Regions from separate parts of the Homo sapiens genome. Here all the other regions are linked to region 2. The links are contacts of gene promoters, found by promoter capture Hi-C in human tissues and cell types (Jung and others, 2019). All regions are on one chromosome and are shown on one strand. The core of a region is centred on a gene start or on the middle of the fragment in contact, and the rest is flanking DNA. Distances in the headings are between cores, read along the strand shown.

Region 1 (4,099 bases), core at 857-3,356, 250 kb after region 2:
GCTTCTATCTTTATTTTCATGAGAACCTATTCTTTAGTTCTCACTTGTAAGTAAGAATATGCAGTATTTGATTTTCTGTTTCTGCATTAATTCACTTAGGATTATTGTCTCCAGCTCCATTCATGTTGCTGCAAAGGATGTGATTTTATTCATTTTTATGGCTATGTAGTATTCTATGGTGTACACGTATCACATTTTCTTTATCCAATACACCATTGATGGACACATAAGTTGATTCCATGCCTTTGTTATTGTGAATAGTGCTGTGATAAATATACGAGTGCAAGTGCCTTTTTTTTTCCTTTTCAGGTCAGATGGATAATGTGCTGATGTCATAACAAGATTCAGAGGGTGGCACATCTCACACATGAGCATGAACACCCAATCATCATGTTCATGAACTGCAAAAGGATCTGCAGGTATCTTTTTGAAAGAATCATTTCTTTTCCTTTAGGTAGATACCCAATAATGGGAATTGCTGGGTCGTATAGTAGATTGATCTATTTTTAGTTCTTTGAGAAATCTTCATATTGTTTTCCATAGGGGTGGAACTAATTTACATTCCCACCAACAGTGTATAAGTGTTCCTTTTTCTCTGCATCCTTACTAACATCTGTTATTTTTTGACTTTTTAATAATAGCCCTTCTAACTGGTGTGAGATGGTATCTCCTTGTGGTTTTAATTTGCATTTCTCTGATGATCAGTGATGTTAACATTTTTTCCATATATTTGTTGGCTGCTTGTATGTTTTTTTAAGAAGTGTCTGTTCATGTCCTTTGCCCAATTTTAATGTTTATTTCTTGCTGACTTACTAAAATTTCTTATAGATTGTGGATATTAGACCTTCTTTGGATGCATAGTTTGCAAATATTTTCTCCCATGTTGTAGGTTGCCTGTTTACTCTGTTGGTTGTTTCTTTTGCTGGGCAGAAGCTCTTTAGTTTAATTAAATCCCATTTGTCTATTTTTGTTTTTGTTGCATTTGCTTTTAATGTCTTAGCCATAAATTCTTTGGCTAGGCCAATGTCCAGAAGAGTATTTCCTAGATTTTATTCTAGCATTTTTATAGGTTGAGGTCTTACATTTAAGTCTTTAATCCATCTTGAGTTAATTTTTGCATATGGTGAGAAGTAGGGGTACAGTTTTATTCTTCTAAATATGGCTAGGCAATTTTCCAAGAACCATTTACTGAATAGGGTGTTGATATAGCTTGATATTTGTCTTTGCCAAAATATCATGTTGAAATGTAATCCTAGCCAGGCATGGTGGCTCATGCCTGTAATCTCAGCACTTTGGGAGGCCAAGGCAGGTGGATCATCTGAGGTCAGGAGTTCTAGGCTTGGCAAACATATTGAAACTCTGCCTCTACTAAAAATACAAAAAAAATTATCCAGGTGGAGTGGTGTGTGCCTGTAGTCCCAGCTACTCAGGAGGCTGAGGCAGGAGAATTGCTTGAACCTGGGAGGCAGGGGTTGCAGTGAGTCAAGATCCTGCCATTGCACTCCAGCATGGGCGAAAGAGCGAGGCTCCATCTCAAAACAAACAAAAGAAAGAAACATAATCCCCAGGATTGGAATTGGGGCCTGGTGAGAGGTGTTTGGGTCATGGGGGCGGATCCCTCATGGCTTGCTGCTGTCCTTACTATAGTGAGTTCTCAAATGATCTGGTTGTTTAAAGTGTGTGGTACCTCTTCCCTTCTCTCTTGCTCCTACTCCTACCATATGAGATGCCTGCTCCCCCTTCACCTTCCACCATGATTGTAAGCTTCCTGAGGCCACTGCAGAAGCTGAGCAGATGCTGACACCATGCTTCCTGTACAGCTTGCAGAGCTATGAGCCAATTAAACCTTGTTTCCTTATAAATTACCCTGACTCAGGTATTTGTTTATGACAATGCAAGAACAGCCTAAGACAGATGTTCTTTCTCCATTGTTTATTTTTGCCAACTTTATTGCAGATCAGTTGATTGTAGGTGTATGGCTTTATTTCTGAGTTATCTATTCTGTTCTATTGGTCTATGTGTCTATTTTTGTACCAGTACCATGCTGTTTGGATTACTCTAGCCTTCTAATATAGTTTGAAGTCTGGTAATGTTATGCTTCTGGCTTTATTCTTTTTGCTTAGGATTGCTTTGGCTATTTGGGTTCTTTTTGGTTCCATACAAATTTTAGACCAGTTTTTTTCTAGTTCTGTGAAAAACAACATTGGCAATTTGATAGAAATTGCTTTAAATCTGTAATTTACTTTGGCAAGTATGGCATTTTAATGACATTGATTCTTCCACTCCATAAGCATGGAATGTTTTTCCATTTGTTTATGTTGTTTCTGATTTCTTTCAGCAGTGTTTTGTAGTTCTCCTTGTAGAGATCTTTTACCTCCTTGGTTAAATGTATTCCTAGGTATTTTGTGTGTGTGCGTGTGTGTGTGTGTGTGTGTGTGTGTGTATCTATTGTAAATGGGATTGATATCTTAATTTGTTTCTTAGTTTAAATGCTATTGGTGTATAGAAATGCTACTTGTTTTGTAGGTTGATTTTGTATCTTAAAACCACTGAATTCATTTATCAGGTCTAGGATTCTTTTGGAGAAAATTAGGGCTTTCTAGGTATAGGATCTTGTCATCAGCAAACAGAGAAGATTTGTCTTCCTCTTTTCATATTTTGTTGCCTTTTATTTTTTTCTTTTGTCTAATTGGTCTGGCTAGGACTTCTAGTACTATGTTGAATACGAGTTGTGAGAGTAGGTAACCTTATCTTGTTGTAATTCTTAGGGGGAATGCTTTTAACTTTCACCTGTTCAGTATGATGTTGGCTGTGGGTCTGTCATATATGGCTCTTATTATTTTGAGTTATGTTCCTTCAATGCCTAGTTTGCTGAGGATTTTTATCATGAAGGGATGTTGGATTTTATTGGATGCTTTTCTTTTTTCTGGGCCCGTTGAGATCATATAGTTTTTTATTTTAATTCTGTTTATGTGGTGAGTCACATTTATTGATTTGCATATGTTGAACCATTCTTGAGTCCCATGAATAAAAAACACTTGAGTGTGATAATTTATCTTTTTGATGTGCTATTGGATTCAGTTTGCTAGTATTGTTTTGAGCATTTGTATGCCTATGTTCATCAGGGATATGGGCCTGTAGTTTTCTTTTTTGGTTGTGTCTTTGCCAGATTTTGATATCAGGATAATATTGGTTTAATAAAATGAGTTAGGGAAGAATCCCTCCCCTTCAATTTTTTGGAGTAGTTTCAATAAGATTGGTACCAGCTGTTCTTTGAATGTCTGGTAGAATTTGGTGGTGTATCTATTTGGTCCAGGGTTTTTTTTTGATGGTAGACTTTTTATTGCTGATTTACTTTCATAACTTGATATTGGTCTGTTCAGGATTTCAATTTATTGGTGGTTCAATCTTGGGAGGTTGTGTCTTCGGGAATTTATTTCTATTTCCTCTAGGTTTTCTATTTTATGTGCATAGACATGTTGATAGTAGTCTTTGAGGGTTTTTGTATTTCTGTGTTATCAGTTGTAATGTCACCTTTGTCATTTCTGATTGTGCTTATTTGAATCTTCTCTTTTTCCTTCTTAGTTAATCTAGCTGGAAGTCTACTAATTTTGTTTATCCTTTCAAAGAACCAATTTTGAAAGGTTCTTTGATCATTTGTATGGTTTTTTCATTGATAATTTGTATGTTTTTTTTTTTGTTTTTGGTCTCAAATTCATTTAGTTCGGCTCTAATCTTTCTTGTGTCTTTTCTTCTGCTAGCTTTGAATTAGGTTTATTCTTGCTTTTCTATTTCCTTTAGGTGCAACATTAGGTTGTTAATTTGGGATTATTCTATCTTTTTAATGTAGGAATTTAGTGTTATAAACTTTCCTCTTACACTGCTTTTGCTGTATCCCAGAGGTTTTGGTATGTTGTGCCTGTCTTCTTGTTTGTTTCAATTTTTTAAATTTCTGCCTTAATTTCATTGTTTATTCAAAAGTCATTCAGGAGCAAGTTGTTTAGTTTCCATGTACTTGTGTCATTTTGAGAGTTTCTATTGGCACTGATTTCTAATTTTATTTCACTATGGTCCAAGAAAATGCTTGATATGATTTTCA
Region 2 (3,725 bases), core at 960-3,459:
TTGGTGAGAAGCAGTTGAGGAGGGAAGAAGAAAGAAAAGAGGAGAGAAAAGAGAGGGAGAGATGTCTTGAGGCAGAGACTGGGATAGGCACTGGCTAAGCAGGGTGAGAAGGCAGGGAAAGAGCCGGGCTGACCCAAACCAAAGTCAGAAAATGATTGAGAAGAGCAAGAAAAACAAAGGAATGAGGATACAGAGTCAAGAGAGGAGACAAAAGAAGGATTGAGTGAGGAAAATTCTGAAACATAAATTTGCAGAAAGGTTAAGGAAAAGGAGGAATAAGAAGGAGGAGAAAGTGTAGAGGGAGAGCACAAGGATGTGGAAGGAGGGGAGCAAGCGTCTGGGGAAGGAGACAGAAGAGATCCTAGAGCACAGGGGAAGATGGGGAGCTGCTATTTGTTCTTCGGCTGGCTCCTGCTTTGGAAAAATCCTCGTTTCCTACTCAGTGGGTATGCCAAAGACCACATCCTGGGTACAGGAGATATGAGATCATTTGGAGGTACCTAGAGACAGTCACAGTGATAGAACTAAACTCTGAGTCCTTAGAGGCCAGAGAGAGTTGCAAGATTTAGAGAATATAACATGTATTTCCTAGGACTGGGTTCCACAGCTCCAGATTCATTGATCTCTTAGACTACTCCAACACATGTGAATGACTTTTTAATGCCCCACTTTGTGCTTAGTCTTGGCTGGCCTTGTCAAGACCTGGAAACTTTAACACTTCTTGCTGTGCATTTCCGCTTTGCCTTGGATTACAAGCACAAAAAGAAATAGTGACAATTATTCAAGCCATTCAGGATACTTCCCAAACCCTTCTGCCTCTCAACACTGTGGTTCGGGTCTAAGTACTGAGAATATTTTAATACCTAATATGAGCTTCGCATGGTTTCCAGAGATGCAGCATATCTTTTTAGCTAATATTGGCTTTTTTGAAGCTCATAAGATAACAGCTCTTAAAGATCCTGTAGGGATCATCTCGTCCATGCTAGGAAATTAGCTGGTCCTTCCTCAGTAAGGAACTATTTAGATAAAAGCAGTCAGAACTCTGGCCTGAACAGTAAACATTTAACCAGAGTTCAATCAGAATTCAAGGACAGGTTTTCTTAAACTTTCTTTGTTTCTAGGAGATCAGGCAGAGCTGAATTTAACCAAGAATCTTTTGATCCTTTCCACATATAGATATACAATAGTGGTCACATATGTTCTGGGAGTTCCTAGACCTTATATGTCTAAACTGGGGCTTCCTGACATAAAACTATGCTTACCGGCCAGGAATCTGTTAGAAAACTCAGAGCTCAGTAGAAGGAACACTGGCTTTGGAATGTGGAGGTCTGGTTTTGCTCAAAGTGTGCAGTATGTGAAGGAGAACAATTTACTGACCATTACTCTGCCTTACTGATTCAAATTCTGAGGTTTATTGAATAATTTCTTAGATTGCCTTCCAGCTCTAAATTTCTCAGCACCAAAATGAAGTCCATTTCAATCTCTCTCTCTCTCTTTCCCTCCCGTACATATACACACACTCATACATATATATGGTCACAATAGAAAGGCAGGTAGATCAGAAGTCTCAGTTGCTGAGAAAGAGGGAGGGAGGGTGAGCCAGAGGTACCTTCTCCCCCATTGTAGAGAAAAGTGAAGTTCTTTTAGAGCCCCGTTACATCTTCAAGGCTTTTTATGAGATAATGGAGGAAATAAAGAGGGCTCAGTCCTTCTACTGTCCATATTTCATTCTCAAATCTGTTATTAGAGGAATGATTCTGATCTCCACCTACCATACACATGCCCTGTTGCTTGTTGGGCCTTCCTAAAATGTTAGAGTATGATGACAGATGGAGTTGTCTGGGTACATTTGTGTGCATTTAAGGGTGATAGTGTATTTGCTCTTTAAGAGCTGAGTGTTTGAGCCTCTGTTTGTGTGTAATTGAGTGTGCATGTGTGGGAGTGAAATTGTGGAATGTGTATGCTCATAGCACTGAGTGAAAATAAAAGATTGTATAAATCGTGGGGCATGTGGAATTGTGTGTGCCTGTGCGTGTGCAGTATTTTTTTTTTTTTAAGTAAGCCACTTTAGATCTTGTCACCTCCCCTGTCTTCTGTGATTGATTTTGCGAGGCTAATGGTGCGTAAAAGGGCTGGTGAGATCTGGGGGCGCCTCCTAGCCTGACGTCAGAGAGAGAGTTTAAAACAGAGGGAGACGGTTGAGAGCACACAAGCCGCTTTAGGAGCGAGGTTCGGAGCCATCGCTGCTGCCTGCTGATCCGCGCCTAGAGTTTGACCAGCCACTCTCCAGCTCGGCTTTCGCGGCGCCGAGATGCTGTCCTGCCGCCTCCAGTGCGCGCTGGCTGCGCTGTCCATCGTCCTGGCCCTGGGCTGTGTCACCGGCGCTCCCTCGGACCCCAGACTCCGTCAGTTTCTGCAGAAGTCCCTGGCTGCTGCCGCGGGGAAGCAGGTAAGGAGACTCCCTCGACGTCTCCCGGATTCTCCAGCCCTCCCTAAGCCTTGCTCCTGCCCCATTGGTTTGGACGTAAGGGATGCTCAGTCCTTCTAAAGAGTTTTGGTGCTTTTCTGGGTCCCTCAGCTCCCGAAGCTCTTGAGAAAACTATCAAAGGCTAGAATCCCCTTCTAACTCTTTTTTTCCCCCATGATAAGCGCAGTCGGTCACAGTTCAGGTGAGTTCTTACTTGGCATTCAAGAAAATTACAAAATCTGGGTAGTTGTCTGGGCACGAAGCGACAATGGCGTCTATCCCTGGTGCTGACCCTGGGAAGCGCTGACCCAGGTGCTGAAACGCAGACCTCTGAAGCTGCTACCTCTTAGCGTACCTCACTTCCAAACGTCGGGACTAGGGCAAAGGGGCAATCTAAAGACCGAACGCCGTATGTTTGAGATTGTGAGAAGTCTCGTTCCCCTACAGTTTACTTGGTAAAAATGGTAAAACAATTCTACTTTGTAGCTCGTGATGTGAAAATTGAATTAAACTGTTGGCACACACTTTATCTTACCAGAACGGTCTTTATGTGTGTGTGTGTGTGTGTGTGTGTGTTTGTGCGTGTGTGTGTGTGTGTGTGTGTGTTAAGTCTACAGGGACAGAAAGGTTGCAGAAACATTTGAGCTCTTAAAGCCTTTTTGTGTAACTTGGTAATTATAGCAACTATCCTTATTTTTATATCCTTGATTGATTTTAAATGTGACAAAAAATGCGCAGCTGTAAAAACTGGATTTTGTGTGTGACCAAATCTGTTCTTTAATTTAGGCTTTTCAAATTTTTTCCATTGTCCTCCCCACTTCTCTTTCTCTCTTTTTCTATCCCTTCTGCCCTATACAGGAACTGGCCAAGTACTTCTTGGCAGAGCTGCTGTCTGAACCCAACCAGACGGAGAATGATGCCCTGGAACCTGAAGATCTGTCCCAGGCTGCTGAGCAGGATGAAATGAGGCTTGAGCTGCAGAGATCTGCTAACTCAAACCCGGCTATGGCACCCCGAGAACGCAAAGCTGGCTGCAAGAATTTCTTCTGGAAGACTTTCACATCCTGTTAGCTTTCTTAACTAGTATTGTCCATATCAGACCTCTGATCCCTCGCCCCCACACCCCATCTCTCTTCCCTAATCCTCCAAGTCTTCAGCGAGACCCTTGCATTAGAAACTGAAAACTGTAAATACAAAATAAAATTATGGTGAAATTATGAAAAATGTGAATTTGGTTTCTATTGAGTAAATCTTTTTG
Region 3 (3,774 bases), core at 1,268-3,767, 160 kb after region 2:
CTGCCTTGCTAGGTTGGGGAAGTTCTCCTGGATAATATCCTGAAGAGTGTTTTCCAGCTGGGTTCCATTCTCCCCGTCACTTTCAGGTACACCAATCAGACATAGATTTGGTCTTTTCACATAGTCCCATATTTCTTGGAGGCTTTGTTCGTTTCTTTTTACTCTTTTTTCTCTAAACTTCTCTTCTCGCTTCATTTCATTCATTTGATCTTCAATCACTGATACCCTTTCTTCCACTTGATCAAATCAGCTACTGCAGCTTGTGCATGTGTCACGTAGTTCTCGTGCCATGGTTTTCAGCTCCGTCAGGTCATTTAAGGACTTCCCTACACTGCTTATTCTAGTTAGCCATTCGTCTAATCTTTTTTCTAGGTTTTTAGCTTCTTTGCGATGGGTTCGAACATCCTCCTTGAGCTCGGAGAAGTTTGTTATTACTGATCATCTGAAGCCTTCTTCTCTCAACTCATCAAAGTCATTCTCCATCCAGCTTTGTTCCATTGCTGGCAAGGAGCTGTGTTCCTTTGGAGGAGAAGAGGTGCTCTGATTTTTAGAATTTTCAACTTTTCTGCTCTGGTTTCTCCCCATCTTTGTGTTTTTATCTACCTTTGGTTTTTGATGATGGTGACATACAGATGGGGTTTTGGTGTGGATGTCCTTTCGGTTTGTTAGTTTTCCTTCTAACAGTCAGGACCCTCAGCTGCAGGTCTGTTGGAGTTTGCTAGAGGTCCACTCCAGACCCTGTTTGCCTGGGTATCACCAGCGGAGGCTGCAGAACAGGAAATATTGCAGAATGGCAGATGTTGCTGCCTGATCCTTCCTTTGGAAGCTTCCTCTCAGAGGGGCACCCGGCTGTATGAGGTGTCAGTCGGCCCCTACTGGGAGGTGTCTCCCAGTTAGGCTACTCAGGGGTCACGGACCCACTTGAGGAGGCAGTCTGTCCGTTCTCAGCTCTCAAACTCCATGCTGGGAGAACCACTACTCTTTTCAAAGCTGTCAGACAGGGACATTTAAGTCTGCAGGAGTTTCTGCTGCCTTTTGTTTGGCTATGCCCTGCCCCCAGAGGGGGAGTCTACAGAGGCAGGCAGTCAGGCCTCCTTGAGCTGCAGTGGGCTCCACCCAGTTCAAGCTTCCCAGCCACTTTGTTTACCTACTCAAGCCTCAGCAATGGCGGACGCCCCTCCCCCAGCCTCGCTGCTGCCTTGCAGTTCGATCTCAGACTGCTGTGCTAGCAGTGAGTGAGGATCTGTGGGTGTGGGACCCTCTGAGCCAGGCGCAGGATATAATCTCCTGGTGTGCCATTTGCTAAGCCCATTGGAAAAGCACAGTATTAGGGTGGGAGTGTCCCTATTTTCCAGGTACAATCTGTCATGGTTTCCCTTGGCTAGGAAAGGGAATTCCCCCAACCCCTTGCACTTCCCAGGTGAGGTGACGCCCAGCCCTGCTCAGTGTGCTGCATCCACTGTCCAACAAGCCCCAGTGAGATGAATCTGGTACCTCAGTTGGAAATACAGAAATCACCTGTCTTCTGCATTGCTCACCCTGGGAGCTGTAGACTGGAGCTGTTCCTATTCGGCCATCTTGGAACCTCCCCCATTAGTTCTGTTCCTCTAGAGAACCCTAATACATGTCCCTTCAAAATTCACATGTTGAAATCCTAACCTCTAGTGTTGTGATATTAAGAGGTGGGGCCTTTGGGAAGAAATTAGATAATGAGTGTGGGGCCCTCTTGAATTGGATTAGTGCCCTCATAAGAAGACACATGAGTGCCTCCTCTTTCCCTCTCTGCCCTCTGCCACCTGAGGATACAATGAGAGATGGCTATCTACAAACTAGGAAGAGTGCCCTCACCAGACACCAGATCTGCCAGCACCTTGATATTGGACTTCCCAGGCTTCAAACCTGAGAAATAAATGTTTGCTGTTCAAGTCACCCAGTCTATGGTGGTTTTGCTATAGCAGTCTGAACTAAGTTTCTGAGCCAAAGAATGACAGAATTGCTTTTGGAAAATAATTTAAGCTGCAAGGTCACAAGGGCTTGGGCTAAGGGAGTGGCAGTCAGAAAGGCATGGAGGACTGACAGCTCTTATTGCTGACCCCGTTTTCATCTGTGAGGACTAAGTGCAGGACACTAGGAACATGAGATAAATAATAAAAAGTTTAGCTTCACGATGTTTGCAGTCGACTAATATAATGTCCAACCAGCGTTGTTTCCAAGGACTCCTGCTCCTATAACTGAGGACCTTCTGATTGTATCTCTAGAGCTAATAACGAATGCTTAAACAAAAAGTGAAAATTTCGAACGTTCACCCAGAACTAGTATTTGCTAAAAACACATAGTTTGATATTTTGAACATGACCAAAAAGGAGATTGTGATTATTCTTTTTATTCAAGTATTTGCTAAAAATGAACACCAAAACCCAATAAAAAGAAGGCTAAATCTCCTTTATCTCCAATAACTTGGATTCAGGAAACCTGTGTTCTAATTGTATAATTTACCCACTGTGGACTTCATTTTTCTTGTTTGTAAATTAATGATAATACTTGGTCTTTCTGCTTCAAATAGGATGATGGATATTGTGTCAACTGTGAATATTAAAGAATGATCATAAGTGGTCAAATTTTTGGTAAAATCAAAGCTCCATTTTAAAATGTCTACAGAAAAAGATGAGCTGAGTTCCCCATTCCTTATCACACTGTTTAGGAGCTTGGATACTCCTGATCAACCTTCTATTTCCAAGTTGTATCCCCCTAAACAGACAGTAAGGTCTACGCTGCTAAGAATCAAGCCTGTTATTCACAAATATATCACACAACATCTAGAACAATTTTTGGCACATAGTACGCACTCAATAGAGGTTGATGGAGTGAAATAAAATGATGACTATGAGTGCCTTTTTCTTCACATTAGATGCAGGCTTTTTATTTCTGGCTTTTTAACCATTCAGTTATCAACCTGCATTCACATTATCTTTATTTTCATTCAAAAAAAAATTGTTGAATATCTACTATGTGCTGGTTACTATGAAAGTGGTAAAAAAAAAAAAAAAAGGCTTGGTGTCTGCCTTAATGGAGTTTTTAATAATTACATTTTTATTATAACCAGACTTATGAATCCTATCTTTTCTAAATTAATTCTATATATTATAATTTCTATGAAAATTACTTAAAATTAAGTTACATTTATGTCCTTTGAGATCATCTGAACCATCTTGGGATATCCCAAGCCCAAACTGAGAAAAGAAAAGAAATTTTATCCAAGGAATGCAAAGCTTTTAAATGATCAGGCCCAGAGAGTCATTAAAACAATCACATCCTGCCTCCCACTTGAGCTACATATTCATCTCTTGACTGCTTGCTATTGCCATGAATATAAATTAACCTAATAATGCCACACAGACACTAATCCACTATAACCTTGTAGCTTAACAATGTATATAGCCGATCACTAATCATTGTTATTTCTGTAAACCAATGAGAATTCCTGACAAATAACTTTGTATCAACCCACTCCATTTTTCCCTTTTAAAACCCACTTGTTACAAAGGCAAAACATTCTTCACATCCAAGGTTATTTAGATCTGAGTCGTCAGGGCAGCTGTCCTTATTTTGGCTCAAGTACACTCTTTAACTTTTTTTTTTTTTTTTTTTTTTTTTGATATGGAGTCTCACTCTGTAGCCCAGGCTGGAGCTGGAGTGCAGTGGTGCGATCTTGGTTCACTGTAACCTTCACCTCCCAGGTGTCCGTTCAAGCAATTCTTCTGCCTCAGCCTCCTA
Region 4 (4,083 bases), core at 1,245-3,744, 210 kb after region 2:
TGTATTAATAATAAAGCAATTAAACCAGTGCATAGCATGTAGTAAGTGTTGTGTAAGTATTTGCAAAATAAATGAAAGTTTACCCCCGTATTCAGCTTTTGACATGGTGTTGATTTTCAGTGCTTGATAAGTAATTGTTAGAGTGAAAAATTAAATGATAAGGCTGGGTATATTTGCTGAGTGATAGTTGGAAACCTAAGTCCTGGCCCACACTCTGTGACTTCACCTTGCCCCAAGACACTGGCAACTAAGGGACTGAATTGGGTGGATGACCCCAGTGCTCAGTCATGGAGGTAGCAGAGCTGTCACCATGAATTCAGTGGACACACACGTTTCAGCCTGTGCATCCCTGTGAAAAATCTATCCCATCAGGCTGCCACAGGAGACAATGGCTGCTGGTCCCCCAGCTCCCACCCCACTGGCCTTCTTTTCTCAATTGGATTCTGAACATGGGTGCAGGCAGAATTACAAGGGCTCTGCGAGGAGAATATCTGCAGTGCACAGTCTCTTGAGCACATAATGGGTTCATAATGAAAGAGCATAAATCTGGAAGATGAGGGAGATGGATGTCATTAAAGGCTAAAGCACAAAGCAAAAGGATGAATCCCACCACTACTCAGACAAGTCTTCACCTCACTTCAAAGGACTTTGTCATCTGAGCCTTCTGCCCCACTAGGGTTCCCTCTCCATGCCACTCCACTTTCCAGTCCTTACTTTTCCCATTTTCCCCAACATCTACCACCCACAAGATCTGCCACCCACCTGCAGAACTGGGCATGGGTCACTAATTTGACTTAGTTCCAGAACACAGAGCCTCAGCTCCTGCTACCCCATGTCTAATGGGGAAAGTGACACCTCATGGGACTCCAGTGAGAATGAAAGGTACTGCATGTGAGAAAGTTTTTTTAAAAGTGTTCAGTGTTGTGCAAATTCAGCACAACCATTGAAAATTGTATTATTTATATAGCCATAGCCAATGGTTCACTTTTTTCCCCCTAAATTAACACTCCTTCCCTACCATGGATTATTTCAGTTTGTATAAAACTAAATACATGGTTTGTATAAAACTGATAAAGTTCAGTTGTGTTTTGAATCAGAGTAGGTACAGCTATATATTACGTGAGTCAACATAAAGCATTTTTAATGGCGTCTTATACTGGCGAACACTATGTAAGGGAAGGCTAATATTCATGCAAAAATGACATGAACTAGAGGCTCCCAAACAGGACTCTAGATCTGATTCTGCGTTTCTGTTTATCTTTAAAAAAATGCTGATATGTGTACTTACCCTGCCTACTTTGTACATGGAGTAGTGTTCAGGAATAAATTAGCAATGTAGGTGGGTAAAATTCCTTTATTAACTATACTATAAACATTGTAAAGATAATACATGTATCTATGTTCATATGCCCCTCTTTTTTCAAATATTTCCATTTTTGCTCCCCTTTTCTTTGTTTTTGTTTTTTCTTTCTTTCTTTTTGACAACTGGAACACAAAATATCAATCAGAGTGATTAACCAAGTTTAAGACATTTAAAATTTACTATATAATAGCCAGGACTTGAAAACAGTACAGATATTCTCTCTCTCTCCATCTCTCTCTCTCTTACACACACACACTTTTGAAACACTGATGCTTACTATCCACAAGGAGTCAAATACTTAGCCTGAATGAGAGCAAAACAATAAAATCTTTCCCCTGCAGTGTTAATTTTGACCTACAATGTAATTGAACTTTGCCAGCTGAGTGGGGAATAGGAGTAAGCCCTTGATAGGATTAGAAAGCTTATCTAAGAATTTTTGCTTAATAACCTGATTGTTGAAATCTGTATTGCTTTTTCAAACACTGCACCTCCTGTGACCTTTCGCCACCCACCAGAATGGCTTCCTGGAGCTTCTCTATTCAGAGTGGTGTCAGATTGTATTCAGTACAGAAGTTGAGTTCTACCATGTTTTATTTTTCTAAGAGAAATGAATATTAAGGTTTAAGGATTCGAGGTTAGATGATAAAAGTGTGACTATGATCATAGGGATACTGGCATGACTCAAGTCTTAATGTACAACGTGATATTGGACTGGACAACAGAACACCCAGATCTCATCCAAGTATAATTGTTACTTAGCTGTGTGAGCTTGCGTAAGTCATGCACACTCTCTGAGCCTCAGTTTCATGAGTATCTGCAAAATAGAAACAACAGATAGTGTCAGCCCCACCTATTTCAGATTTGCTATGAGTGCCATATGAGATCCTATCCTTTGTTAACCAGACCCTGGAAACAAATCCAGAAGTTTATGAAGACACCCACACTTGCTAATAAAGAAAATGATTGCTTTGAAGAGCTCTCCTACTAGAGAAGGGAATTCTCATGATGCATGATTCAGTTTTCAGAGAAACTGAGGACAAGTATTGACCAGTTTTGGTCTTCAGAACAGCTAGAATTATTGCCTAAAAAGAGAGAAGTGCCGGGCATGGTGGTTCATGCCTGTAATCCCAGCACTTTGGGAGGCCAAGGTGGGCGGATCGTCTAAAGTCAGGAGTTTGAGACCAGCCTGGTCAATGTGGCGAAACCCCGTCTCTACTACAAAAAAAAAAAAAAAAAAATTAGCTGGGTGTGGTGGCACACACCTGTAGTCCCAGCTACTTGGGAAGCTGAGGCAGGAGAATCACTTGAATCTGGGAGGTGGAGGTTGTGGTGAGCCAAGATCACACCGCTGCACTCCAGACTGGGTGACAGAGCGAGACTCCATCACAAAAAAAAAGAGAGAGAGAGAGAGAAGCATGCTCCCAATTTTTCTCCAATTTTACCTATGGATCAAAAATATAATTCTCTTTTAGATTTTTTCCATGCATTTCATGCATTGGGGGTAGCTACAATGTAGAAGGTGTCTATTGACATAACAATGAACAACAAGGAACATTTAGTGAAGTTTTGAAGATACAGTAGTCATGCTTCCTGAACTGTGATGCGGCTGAGATGGGTCCTGCAGAGCACTTTCCTGGCTCTGCCTGGGTTAGAAAAGGTTTTATCCTCAAGGAGATTTGTGTTGGCAACACTACCAGGTAGATTGGAATTCTGGATGTGTCTCTCCCAGGCCTTTCTGTCTTCTGTCTAAGGCAGATGCCCAGACCATTACCTCTGGTGAAGACGCTGCTTGCCTGCAAGAGTCACAGAGATTCCTTCCCTGAAGACACCTCTTCTCTGACACCACATTTGCTCATCATGCTACCAGCTCCTCTGGGCCTGGGCACTGCCCTGAGTGTGTGTGTTTGTGTTTGGTGTGCACTGTCTCAAGGAACTCACAATACATGGGAAGAGACAGGCCTGTGGCCAAGTGTAGCCTTCTGGCTGCAGTAACAAGTGCTTATTCAGCCACAGTGGGGATCCCAGGAGAGAGTGACAGGTGGTGAATATGTTGAATAATAAGCCACTGTAATTTTTCTTCTCTATCAGATTGTCTTGGGATTCCTTTCTCAGTCACTTCTTTCTACCTTCCCTGCCTCAGCCCCAAGACAACTGCCAAGGGGAGAACCAAGTATAATGGATAATATTCAATTCTGAAATCACAAGAACTGTGTTTGAATTCCGGCTCCACACATTGCCAGCTCTGTAACTGTGGACAATTCACCTAAGTTCTCTAAGTCTCAGATTCTTCCCCGCTAAATTGTCAGTTGTAAAGATTAAATATGAACACATAGGAAAAACTCCTGGCCCTTGATAGAATCTCAATAAAGCTTAAAACAACAATAGTAAAGTGATCCTTCAGAATACCATCATTATAGTTTAACAACCTTTTTCACTTGCAGAAATAATAGGAGAGTGGCTCACCCACCGTCTGTATGAAGTGGATGAATGCTTGCATCAGCCCTTTGCAAACAGACTGATCGATGGAGCCAGTGATCAGGAAAATTGAATTCCACTGAATACACACTGCTGTCTGCCTGGCATCATCATATTTCAATGAAGTGGAATTGTAAATAGTGGGAGGTGTTTTTGATGAGCTATGTGTTTGGGAATAGGGGATTTTGAAATGTCATTTTGAGCTCAAATTAATCAAATTTTGAATAACAGAGTTTGGAGAAACA
Region 5 (4,247 bases), core at 377-2,876, 180 kb after region 2:
TATATATTATGCAAATATTTTCTCCCAAATCTGCAACTTAGATATTATTTTATTTTTTTATTTCAGTAGGTTTTGGGGAAACAGGTGGTTTTTGGTTACATGAATAAGTTCTTTACTGGTGATTTCTGAGTTTTCGGTGCACCCATGACCCGAGCAGTACACACTGTACCCAATGTGTAATATTTTATCTCTACCCTCCCATCCTTCCCCTCGAGTCCTCAAAGTCCATTATACCATTCTTATGCCTTTGCATCCTCATAGCTTAACTCCCACTTATAAGTGGGAACATACGATATTTGGTTTTCCACTCCTGAGTTACTTAGCTTAGAAAGTGGTCTCTAACTTCATCGAAGTTGCTACAAAAGCCATTATTTTGTTCCTTTTATAGTATTGCATGATGTACATATACGACATTTTCTTTATTCACTTGTTAGTTGATGGGCATTTAGGTTGGTTCCATATTTTATCACTTGTGAATTGTGCTGCTATAAACTTGTGTGTGCAAGTGTCTTTTTCATATAATGACTTCTTTTCCTTTGGGTAGATAACCAGCAGTGAGATTGCTGAGTCGAATGGTAGAAGTACTTTCAGTCCTTTAAGGAATCTCCATACTGTTTTCTACAGTGGTTGTACTAGTTTACATTCCCACCAGCAGTGTAAAGGTGTTCTCTTTTCACCACATCGATGCCAACAATTATTATTTTTTGATTTTTTAAATTATGGCCATTCTTGCAGGAGTTAGGTGGTATACTGAATTGTGGTTTTAATTTGTATTTCCCTGATAATGAGTAGGTGTTCTTTCCCTACTTCATGTTTTTGAATGCTTTGTCAATGATCAAGTTGGGTATAAATCTTTGGCTTTATTTCTGGGTTCTCTATTCTGTTCCATTGGTCTGCATGCTTATTTTTATACCAGAACCATGCTGTTTAGGTAAGGATAGTCTCGTAGTATAGTTTGAAGTCAGGTAATGTGATGCCTCCCAATTTGCTCTTTTTGCTTAGTCTTGCTTTGGCTATGCAGGCTTTTTTTTGGTGGGGGGGGTTCCATATAAATTTTAGAATTTTTTTTTTAGTTCTGCAAAGAATGATGATAGTATTTTGATGGGAATTGCATTGAATTTGTAGATTTATTTTGGCAGTATGGTCATTTTCACAATATTGATTCTATCAATCCATGAGCATGGGATGTGTTTCCATTTGTTCACGTCATCTATGATTGCTTTCAGCAGCTTTTTGTAGTTTTCCTTGTAGATGTCTTTTATCTCCTTGGTTAGGTATATTCCTAAGTTTTTGTTTGTTTGTTTGTTTTGTTTTTTGCAGCAATTGTAAAGGGGGTTAAGTTCTTGATTTGATTCTCAGCCTGGTCATTGTTGGTATGTAGCAGTGCTACTGATTTTTGTACATTGACTTTGTGTTCTGAAACATTATTGAATTCATTTATCAGATCTAGAAGCTTTTCAGATGAGTCTTTAGGGTTTTCTAGGTATACAATCATATCATCAATGAACAGCGACAGTTTGACTTCCTCTTTATCGACTTGGATGCCCTTCATTTCTTTCTTCTGCCTGATTGCTCTGGCTAGAATTTCCAGGACTACGTTGAATAGAAGTAATGAAAGTGGGCATCCTTGTCTTGTTCTACTTCTCAGGTGGAATGCTTTCAACTTTTTCCCATTCAGTATAATGTTGGCTGTGGGCTTGTAATATATGTCTTTTATTACCTTAAGCTATGTCCCTTCTATGCCAATTTTGCTGAGGGTTTTAATCATATAGGGATGCTGGATTTTGTCAAATGCTTTTTCTGTGTCTGTTGAGATGATCACGTGGTTTTTGTTTTTAATTCTGCTTATGTGGTGTATCACATGCATCAACTTGCGTATGTTAAACCATCCGTGCATCCTTTGTATGAAAGCCATTTGTTCATGGTGGATTATCTTTTTGATATGCTGTTGGATTTGGTTAGCTAGTATTTATTTGATTTTTGCATCTATGTTCATCAGGGATGTTGGTCTATAGTTTTCTCTTTTTGTTATATCCTTTTCTGATTTTGGTATTAATGTGATACTGGCTTCACAGAATGATTTCGAAGGATTCTGTCTTTCTCTATCTTTTGGAATTGTTTCAGTAGGATTGGTACCAATTCTTTGAATATCTACTAGAATGCAGCTGTGAATCCATCTGGTCCTGGATTTTTTTTGTTGTTGGCGATTTTTTTTATTACTGTCTCAATCTTGCTAATTGTTATTGGTCTGTTCAGAGTTTCTATTTCTTCCTGATTTAATATAGGAGGGTTGTATGTTTCCAAGAATTTATCCATCTCTCCATTTTTTTAGTTTGTGTGCATAAAAGTGTTAATAGTAGTTTTGTTGACTTTCTGTCTTGATGACCTGACTAGTGCTGTCAGTGGTGTATTGAAGTCCCCCACTATTATCTCAGCATCATTTGTCTGAAAAACTTGGTAGTGGAGAATTCTCTCAGCATTTGTTTGCCTGAAAAAGACAAAGGCCAGGGAAGTCGTCCTCAATTATTCCCTCAAATAAGTTTTCTAAAGTTTTAGATGTCTCTTCTTCCTCAGGAACACCAATTATTCTTACGTTTGGTCATTTAACATAATCCCAGCTTTCTTGAGAGCTTTGTTTACTTTTTTATTATTCTTTTTTGTTTGTCTCTGTCTAATTGGGTTAATTTGAAAGGCTTGTCTCTGAGCTCTGAAGCTCTTTCTTCGACTTGTTCTAGCCTATTGTTGAAATTTTCCATTGCATTTTGTATTTCCCTAAATGTTTCTTTCATTTCCAGAAGTTGTGATTGTTTTTCTAATGATATCTATTTTTCTTCAATATTATGCATCCGTATCCTGTATTTTTTTTAATTTCTTTAAGTTGGTTTTCACCTTTCTCTGATATCTCGTTGAGTAGCTTAATATTTAACCTTCTGAATTCTTTATATGGCAATTCAGAGGTTTCTTCCTGGTTTAAATCCATTGCTAGAGAGCTAGTGTGATCTTTTGGGGGTGTTATAGAACTATGTTTTTCATGTTACCAGAACTACTTTTCTGGTTCCTTCTCATTTGTGTAGACAATTTCTTCAAATTGTTCTTGAATTCTTTTTTGATTGGACTGTGTTTTGTAGATTTAATTTTCTTTTCTTTTTTGTGTTTTCCTCTTAAGAATCAGACTTCAATGTTTATTATAGTCTAATTTGATTCTTGGTGCTTGTAGGGGTAAAGACTCTGTATGAGTTCCTTAGTTATAGAGAGTCTTTGTGTGCTGGTTTTCCCCAATGTTGGTTGTAGTAGTTATATTCTTGGTGTGTGGGTGAGTTCGACGTCTCCTCTCAAGTTGAAATGGCAGGGATCTCTTGAAACTTATCTCGTTCCCTAGTGGTGTACAATTTATTTGTTTATTTATTTTTTCCCAGTGTTTTATTTACTGATTTGATGATTCAGGCTTCAGGTCAATAGGAGAGGTAAGCCTGGTTAGGCTCCAGGTGTGGCTAAGGCAGGTGGGAAGATATAATACCCAGTGGTGGGCCAAGGTCCAAGCCTTGATGAGTAACTGGGGGCACTCTCAATTAGACGAGCTGAGGTTTTACCTTGGTGAAGAGTGGGAGCTACCTCAGCTCTCTTGCCAGGTCAGCAGGAAAGCTCTTCACCTCAAAGCCTCACTCCTGTCCTAGTGTTGCAGCTCTTCAGATGAGACAGGCACCTCTTTTAATCTATAGGAATGTTGAGTTCCAAGTAGGAAGGAATTGTGACACTGCCGCTTGTATAGGCCTGAATCTGGGGGGGTGCTCCTCCTGTGGGGCTCCACTCAGCCTGGATTGTTCCAGAAATGCTGCCTACAGGTGCCTCCACACTGCATTCTTGTGGGGGAAGCCCCAGCTGCATTTGTGGTGGAGTGGCAGTAGGGAAGAAGGACCCCTTCTCCAAGGCCCTTCACAATCACAGAGGCAGCCTGCCTGTTGGTGTAGAGGTGCAGACTTTCCCTACTGTGCCCAGCACTGCAATTGTATCTCTTCTGTGAGAAACTACCCACCAGTGGAAGGATGTGGAATTCAAGGCCTGCTGTTCAGATTCTTTTGTCCCATGGGGTGATCCCTTGATGTGGTGCTCTCCCCCTTCCTCTAGAGATGGGGCTCCCTGAGAGTTGGACTGCAGTGATTGTTATTGCTTTTCTGAGACTAGTCACCCAGTGGGGCTATGGGGCTCCAGACTGCTGCTGATGAATGTCCACAAAGAGTTCAGTGATG

Evidence for each region. The method cuts DNA at HindIII sites, captures the fragments that hold promoters and counts their contacts. A contact is called where the count stands out against the background at its distance.
Region 1: a contact is called between a fragment that was not itself captured here and the fragment with the promoter of SST in region 2, in 1 of the 25 tissues and cell types used here (H1 embryonic stem cells).
Region 3: a fragment that was not itself captured here is called in contact with the fragment with the promoter of SST in region 2 in 2 of the 25 tissues and cell types used here (aorta and mesendoderm cells).
Region 4: a fragment that was not itself captured here is called in contact with the fragment with the promoter of SST in region 2 in 1 of the 25 tissues and cell types used here (neural progenitor cells).
Region 5: a fragment that was not itself captured here is called in contact with the fragment with the promoter of SST in region 2 in 3 of the 25 tissues and cell types used here (heart left ventricle, lymphoblastoid cells and mesendoderm cells).

What each region holds. Positions count from the first base shown.
Region 1 is chr3:187,419,629-187,423,727 of GRCh38, reverse strand. It overlaps LOC124905594 (small nucleolar RNA U13), which reads right to left and starts at 413; the gene lies at 309-413. The HindIII fragment of the contact is 5,501 bases long and covers 1-4,099 here.
Region 2 is chr3:187,668,878-187,672,602 of GRCh38, reverse strand. SST (somatostatin) reads left to right here and starts at 2,209. Exons shown (of 2, transcript NM_001048.4): 1 at 2,209-2,449; 2 at 3,326-3,691. The coding sequence starts at 2,312. The coding sequence ends at 3,538. The HindIII fragment of the contact is 6,645 bases long and covers 1-3,725 here.
Region 3 is chr3:187,510,540-187,514,313 of GRCh38, reverse strand. No RefSeq gene overlaps it. Among named protein-coding and RNA genes, the nearest start is that of LINC02041, 65 kb to the right of the region's middle. The HindIII fragment of the contact is 3,081 bases long and covers 977-3,774 here.
Region 4 is chr3:187,458,923-187,463,005 of GRCh38, reverse strand. No RefSeq gene overlaps it. Among named protein-coding and RNA genes, the nearest start is that of LINC02041, 14 kb to the right of the region's middle. The HindIII fragment of the contact is 4,075 bases long and covers 457-4,083 here.
Region 5 is chr3:187,491,839-187,496,085 of GRCh38, reverse strand. All of the region lies in intron 1 of LOC124909471 (a long non-coding RNA gene), which reads left to right. Among named protein-coding and RNA genes, the nearest start is that of LINC02041, 47 kb to the right of the region's middle. The HindIII fragment of the contact is 7,793 bases long and covers 1-4,247 here.